Linked DNA regions of Homo sapiens: region 2 is linked to region 1. Evidence: promoter capture Hi-C in human tissues and cell types (Jung and others, 2019). All regions are on one chromosome and are shown on one strand. The core of a region is centred on a gene start or on the middle of the fragment in contact, and the rest is flanking DNA. Distances in the headings are between cores, read along the strand shown.

What was found. The method cuts DNA at HindIII sites, captures the fragments that hold promoters and counts their contacts. A contact is called where the count stands out against the background at its distance.
Region 2: a fragment that was not itself captured here is called in contact with the fragment with the promoter of DUSP12 in region 1 in 1 of the 25 tissues and cell types used here (H1 embryonic stem cells).

The regions. Positions count from the first base shown.
Region 1 is chr1:161,747,354-161,751,177 of GRCh38, forward strand. It overlaps DUSP12 (dual specificity phosphatase 12), which reads left to right and starts at 2,433. Exons shown (of 6, transcript NM_007240.3): 1 at 2,433-2,792. The coding sequence starts at 2,449. RefSeq lists enhancers at 431-510, 611-660, 2,232-2,741, 2,803-3,449. The HindIII fragment of the contact is 4,457 bases long and covers 1,561-3,824 here.
Region 2 is chr1:161,613,150-161,617,187 of GRCh38, forward strand. No RefSeq gene overlaps it. Among named protein-coding and RNA genes, the nearest start is that of TRL-CAA6-1, 3.1 kb to the left of the region's middle. RefSeq lists an enhancer at 1-25. The HindIII fragment of the contact is 6,825 bases long and covers 1-4,038 here.

The DNA of each region.
Region 1 (3,824 bases), core at 1,183-3,682:
TCAGGTCGTTTGCCCAGTTTTTTGAAAATTGGGTTACTTGTTTTTCTGTTGTCGAGTTGTAGGAGTTTTTTATATGTTCTGCATATTAACGTATCAGATATATGCTTTGCAATTATTTTTTCCCATTCCATACAAATTCCTTTTCTCTCTATTGACTGTTTTGCTTGATATGCAGACACTTTAAAATTTGATATAGTCCCATTTGTCTATTTTCGCTTTTGTTGCCTGTGCTTTTGGTATTTTATCCAAAAAATTGAGGGAGAAGAAAAGGAAAAATCAGTTAGGTAGACAGCTAAGGCTAGCCCTTGGAGAAGCAGTCTGCCTGAAAAATCACAGCTACAAACAAAATAGAGCAGCTTAGGCAAAACTCAGGCTGCACCTGCACAGATAAGCAGGTAGGGTCCAGCACAGACGCTTTTCATTCTTCGTGTAATTGGCGAGCTCCCAGGAAAAACTTTCCTCCCCTTTTCAGGTATATACACAGTGGACTCCGTGGGAACTTGCACAGGAAGGAGGGGGGCTTACCTAAAACAAACCTACAGTGATACAAACAAGAGAACCCACGCTTTGTGCTTGCCTAGAGACATACCCACATCGGCAGAAGATAAGGGAAGTTGCACAGACAGATTTATTCATAAGAGAAGTTACTCAAACAACTATAGAGATGAGAGGAGTTTCTTATAATAGGTTTTGAATTCAGCTGTAAAAATGGCACCCCACTTGGGCTCCCCTCTCTGCTGTGGAGAGCTTTCTTCTTTTGCTTATTAAACTTTTGCTTCAACCTCACTCTTTGTGCCCATGCTCCTTAGTTTTCTCGGTCGTTAGACAAGTTCGGATAACACCTTAGACAATGAGACCATTAACCCTTACCTGTTTCAACATTTTTATCAAATCCAAGGCCATGAAGCTTTCCCCCTATGTTTTCTACTAAGAATGTTATATTTTTAGGTCTTTAATCTATTTGGAGTTATTTTTTGTGTATGGTCCAAGGTAAAGGTCCATCTTCATTCTTTTGCATGTGGATATCTAGTTTTTCCCAACACTGTTGAGGAGATTGTCCTTTTTCCATTGTGTGGTCTTGGCACTCTTTTTGAAGATTATTCTAACATATATGCAGTGTTGCAGGTGATTAGCAGCTTTCTGGGCTGGTGACATGGGTGGTAGGAAGAATTTACCAACACAGTTGTAGGTAAAGAAAGGCAGGTTTATTAGATAAAGTATGAAAATACATTGCAAGGGTGCAACAGGCAGGTCAGCAAGAGAGAAGCTGACTGCTAGGAAACAAAGGCTTGCTGGGGATTTTGTAGAATGGTGCTTATGTTGTGGGTGGAAGAGGGCTTTGTGCAGTACTAATAATGCCAGGGTTGCAGTGAACTAACTTCCATTTTTCTATCAGCTGAGGGTCTGGTGATGGCTGGGCACAGGCAGATTGTGAGTTATTTGCACAGCAGGGCTATGTGTCCTGGACCACGAAGAAAGGCAGACTTATGGCTTGTCTGCTTTCTCCTTTTGCTTCCCTTCGTCCAGCCAGCCTGACTCCTTTTCCCTAATTAGGACTCCACACGCAAGGGTTTGTTCTGTTCCAGAATAGAGACACGTCGATGTATCTATCTTTATACCAGTACTATAGCTGCTACTTCTTGACCAATTACAGCTTTAGTATCTCTCTCACCTGTCCTCCCTATACAAAAGATATATAAAATATACTCACTGTACTGAGTATCTTCCTGCAGCATTCAGTCTGGAGCAAAGCCTGCTTCCTTCAACCCTTTCCAAAATCCCCAAATAAAAGCCCAAAATCTGTAGAGGATCTTCCTAACATCCTCGTGCTGAGATGCCCTGAAATTCTCCATAACTCATGACTGAGTAATAAAACCAACTTGCTTAATTAAAGTTGGTTTCTTGTAGTCCTGGCCGGAGGACATTGACTTACAAAAATATAGGATTAGTATCTTCAAAATAAATAGACAGTAAACATCAACAAGGATTCACACCCCAATAATGAAATTGGGCAGAAAAAGGAAAAATAATCATGAAATGCACAGTAAAGATGGCTCCATAATATTGAAAAAAATTTTACTTCAAATGCATAAAATGATGCTTCTGATTCAGCTGGTGCGACATTTATTTCACATTTGAGTTCAGCTGCTCCTGATGTCTCTTTCCTGAAAATTTCAATACTAAGAGCTCGAGAAACCCTGTATTTGGGGAAGCTTATCCTTCACCATCAACTTTGGGGGTAGGGGTCAGAGGGAACAAGGGTGGAAAGGCCGCGCTGAATGGGGCCGAAGCTCCGCCCCTCAGCGATAAGTCCAGATTCCTGCGGCCGACGTGGTCCTCCGAGGGAGCAGCAGAGCCGCCGAGGCTGGCGAGTCCCAGGGGAAGGATGTTCTAGCCGGAGTCTACTCGATGGTAGGGCAGGAAGCCGCCTTGTCTCTGGGCGCGGCCATGTTGGAGGCTCCGGGCCCGAGTGATGGCTGCGAGCTCAGCAACCCCAGCGCCAGCAGAGTCAGCTGTGCCGGGCAGATGCTGGAAGTGCAGCCAGGATTGTATTTCGGTGGGGCCGCGGCCGTCGCGGAGCCAGATCACCTGAGGGAAGCGGGCATCACGGCCGTGCTAACAGTGGACTCGGAGGAGCCCAGCTTCAAGGCGGGGCCTGGGGTCGAGGATCTATGGCGCCTCTTCGTGCCAGCGCTGGACAAACCCGAGACGGACCTACTCAGCCATCTGGACCGGTGCGTGGCCTTCATCGGTCAGGCCCGCGCTGAGGGCCGTGCGGTGTTGGTGCACTGGTGAGTGGCCGGGTCAGTGGGTGACGTGCCCCGCCAAGCTTCCAGCCGGCCCCCGTCGCCCCTTACCTTCCGAGGCCGTCGGGAGGACAAGAGCGCGGTCATGCCGCGTGAACCTCCTCCCGCTGCCTCCCGCAGGAGGCGTGTTTCCAAGAGAGGAGGAGGGTTGAGGCGGGCCCCTGGTGTGTGCAGGCTTTCATTCATTCATGCTTTAGTTGGTTCTTCCTGCAGCAGCAGAGGGCGGGGGAGGTGTCATCTGATAAATGACAAATTACCTACACCCTAAGGAGTTTACAGCTCTGTTGGAGAAGCTAGACACCCACCCCGATTATTGTAATGCAGATTAGGTTGCTTGGTGTCTTGTAAACGGGATTTACAAAGATTTAGGGTTAAATGTTTTTGTTTGGGATGGGTGGCGGGTGGTTGATGAAGAGATGAATTGGTTTGGATCTAAAGGATCCCTGGGCTTTGCCTAGGGAGGAGATGGTTGCAGCAAAGACAAAAAGAAAATGGGAATCCCGCAGGGCGCGGTGGCTCACGCCTGTAATCCCAGCACTTTGGGAGGCAGGAGGATCACAAGGTGAGGAGTTCGAGATCAGGCTGGCTAATATGGTGAAACCAAAAATACAAAAATTAGCCGGGCGTGGTGGCTCTCGCCTGTAGTCCCAGCTACTCGGGAGGCTGAGGCAGGAGAATCACTTGAACCTGGGAGGCGGAGGTTGCAGTGAGCCGAGGTCATGCCACAGCACTCCAGCCTGGGCAACAGAGCGAGACTCCATCCCTCCCCCCAAAAAAAGAAAATGGGAATCCCTAAGCAGTTCTTGGTTGGATTGGAGTATAATAATCGTTTAAATTTATTGAGCACATAAAAGAAGATAGTGATGAAATCAAAAGAAGTCTGGGACCAGATTTTGAGGTCCCTGAATGCTAAGATGAAAGGAGATTGGATTTGTTTTTGTTTTGTTTTATTTATTTTTATTTTGATATAGGGTCTTGCTCTGTCACCCAGGCTACAGTGTAGTAGCGTAATTACGG
Region 2 (4,038 bases), core at 205-2,704, 140 kb before region 1:
GCTAAGGTCCCGGGCCAAGCTTTCTAATTAGTCCCAGGCCAAGGTCCCAGGCCAACCTAAATCACGCATTCTCCAAAACAGCCGGCAAACTAAGCACATTCCTTCCCGTTTCCAGTCCATAAACCCCCCCCCCCAAGTGGCCTCATAGTAAGCAACTCATTCGGGCCCCCTCTCTGCTGGCAAAAAGCTCAGATGTACTGGACTGTGCATTTGATTTGGAACTGAGTTACATGGGAGAGAAGCAGGGATTCAGTTTGGCTGGGAATCAAACTCTTTTGATAATTTCCTAATAAACTGATAGTCATTAGATGACTTGTAGTCTCGATAAGTTGAAACTTTTTCCTAACATGCTGTTTATGATACTGAGTTCTTTGTCACCGGTTGAACTAACAGCAATTGTATTCACAAATTTTCCAGCCTTTAAAATACTGTCTGAGGGTTTTATGTATCCGTTATCTTTTATTATACAAAAGTCATTTATTGGAATGACATATATAATTAGATTGACCCTAACCATTCAGGCTGGATGAGGCAACACAGTGTGAAGATTAAGTGCATGGGCTCTGTTGTGCTTCCTGTGTTTGAATCTTGGCTCTCTTTGTCTCCATTTCCTCCTGTAAAAGAGGATAATGATGATAATTTTAATTCTTCAATGGGTTAATATATAAACATATATTACAAATGTATAAACATTGCCAGGAGGGTCCATTGTTAATGCCTGTAGTGGGATGATGTTTGAGATTTTAAGTCTCATTCCCTAAAATGGAGGTGAAATTCAACAGGGATGGGAAGAAAGAACATCTGCACCTCAGCCACCCTTTAGCTCCAAACCTCCCTTATGCTCTCATCTGCCCCACAGCCTCCATCCTGTAACAAGAGGACCAGCTGTGCCAGTGGAGGCCACAGCATCTAGCTTATGCCTCCAATGTAACCTGTTACTGCCCACCTGTTCTCCCTGATATTCTCTGACTCTTAGTACTAAGGTCCCACAGAGGCTGCAGTGCCCACAGGCAAGAAGAACCAAAGGGTAGTACTGACTGGTAGTGGCTAGCCACAGCTGTGTGGGGCCAGATTGACACTGCGCAATCGCTAAGTGGATCAGTGTTCAGGCTGCCCTGTCTTGGGAGACATATAGGGACAGGGACCTATAACCAACACCTGCCATAGGCTGGCTTCAGTTAGCCCTTCACGTTGGGATTCACTGAGTGGTTTTTCTGGAAGTGGCCACCTAGAGTTCCCTGTGGCCAGCCAAGGTATGGGGGCTGGCTTTTTGGGATGTCTAGGGAAAGCCAAAAGCAAAACCCAGAAGATAATTCTTTTTGTGGAGGAGTTAACAGATATAGCACTGACCAATCAGAATAGCCACTGGCTATACATTTCCCCATTATAACAGGATTCACTGCATTCCATAAATTTTGTTTTTTTAAATTTCCAAATATATGAAGGCTTTTAAAAGTTATTTTTTGTTATTGATTTCTGAGTTAAATTCCTTATGTTCAGAAAATGTGCTTCATATAGTACTGATTCCATGACATATGTTGAAGCTTACTGGCCTTAGCCAGGTGCGGTGGCTCAAGCCTGTAATCCCAGCACTTTGAGAGGCCGAGATGGGTGGATCACTTGAGATCAGGAGTTCAAGACCAGCCTGACCAACATGGTGAACCCATCTCTACTAAAAATAAAAAATAAATAAATGAAAAATATTAGCCAGGTGTGGTGGCACACGCACCTGTAATCCCAGCTACTTAGGAGGCTGAGGCAGGAGAATCACTTGCACCCAGGAGGCGGAGGTTGCAGTGAGCTGAGATAGTGCCATCATACTCCAGCCTGGGTGACAGAGCAAGTCTCCATCTCAAAAAAAAATAAATAAATAAATAAAAGAAACTTATCAGCCTCATATAAAGTCAGTTTTCATAATATCCCATGTGAGTTTGAGAAGAATGTACAACTAATAATTATTGATTGCAGTTCTATATATATATATCTGTTAAATTGAGCTTGTTAATTGCATTCATATGCTTAATAAAAGTAAATAAGAAAAAGAGACACACGCTTAATAATTTTTTTCTGTTTGATCTAGTAAGGGTTGAAGTATGCGGAATTCTCTCACTGTGGCGACGGATTTGTTCATTTTCCCTTGTAGGCCTAATTCTTGCTTTCATATTTTAATGCCATTTTATCTGTTATATATTCATCAGTAGTTTAATCTTTTATTATATGATGACCATCTTCATCCCTAATGATGCATTATTTCTTAAACTTTATTTTGTCTGATATTGTATAGCTATATGCCAACTTTCTTTTTGTTAGAATATTCCTGGCATTCCCTTTTCCATTTAGTCTTTCTGTTTCTTTACATTTTAATGTCATTCTTCTAAACAGAATAAAACTGATCTTAAAAATTCACTTTATCTTTTAACTGGAAGGTTTTGTTCAGTTGCATTATTATAATTACTGTTATAGGCCGGGTCATGGTGGCTTACACCTGTAATCCCAGCACTTTGGGAGGCTGAGGCAGGTGGATCACTTGAGGTCAGGAGTTCAAGACCAGCCTGGCCAACATAGTGAAACCGCATCTCTACTAAAAATTAGGTGGGTGTGGCGGCATGCACCTGTAGTCCCCAGGAGGCTGAGGTGGGAGAATCGCTTGAACCGGGAAGGTGGAGATTGCAGTGAGCCAAGATGCTACCACTGCACTCCAGCCTGGGTGACAGAGACTCTGTCCACCCACCCTCCAAAAAAAAATAGCTGATATATTTGAATTTATTTCACCACCTCGTTTTGTACTTTTGACCTCAATTATTCTTTTATTTTTATTTTTTTTTAATTGATCATTCTTGGGTGTTTCTCACAGAGGGGGATTTGGCAGGGTCATAGGACAATGGTGGAGGGAGGGTCAGCAGATAAACAAGTGAACAAAGGTCTCTGGTTTTCCTAGGCAGAGGACCCTGCGGCCTTCCGCAGTGTTTGTGTCCCTGGGTACTTGAGATTAGGGAGTGGCGATGACTCTTAACGAGCATGCTGCCTTCAAGCATCTGTTTAACAAAGCACATCTTCCACTGCCCTTAATCCATTTAACCCTGAGTGGACACAGCACATGTTTCAGAGAGCACAGGGTTGGGGGTAAGGTCATACATAGATCAACAGCATCCCAAGGCAGAAGAATTTTTCTTAGTACAGAACAAAATGGAGTTTCCCATGTCTACTTCTTTCTACACAGACACAGCAACAATCTGATTTCTCTATCTTTTCCCCACATTTCCCCCTTTTCTATTCCACAAAACCGCCATCGTCATCATGGCCCGTTCTCAACGAGCTGTTGGGTATAGCTCACAGACGGGGTGGCGGCTGGGCAGAGGGGCTCCTCACTTCCCAGAAGGGGCAGACGGGCAGAGGCACCCCCCACCTCCCGGACGGGGCGGTGGCAGGGCAGAGTCGCCCCCCATCTCCCTCCCAGATGGGGTGGCTGCCGGGCAGAGGCGCTCCTCACTTCCCAGACGGGGCGGCTGCCGGGCGGAGGGGCTCCTCACTTCTCAGACGGGGCGGCTGGGCAGAGACGCTCCTCACCTCCCAGACGGGGTCGCGGCCGGGCAGAGGTGCTCCTCACATCCCAGACGTGGCGGCGGGGCAGAGGCGCTCCCCACATCTCAGACGATGGGCAGCCGGGCAGAGATGCTCCTCACTTCCTAGATGGGATGGAGGCCAGGAAGAGGCTCTCCTCACTTCCCAGACTGGGCAGCCGGGCAGAGGGGCTCCTCACATCCCAGACGATGGGAGGCCAGGCAGAGACGCTCCTCACTTCCCAGACGGGGTGGCAGCCGGGCAGAGGCTGCAATCTCGGCACTTTGGGAGGCCAAGTCAGGCGGCTGGGAGGTGGAGGTTGTAGCTAGCCGAGACCACGCCACTGCACTCCAGCCTGGGCAACATTGAGCACTGAGTGAACGAGACTCCGTCTGCAATCCCGGCACCTTGGGAGGCCGAGGCTGGCAGATCACTCGCGGTTAGGAGCTGGAGACCAGCACGGCCAACACGGCGAAA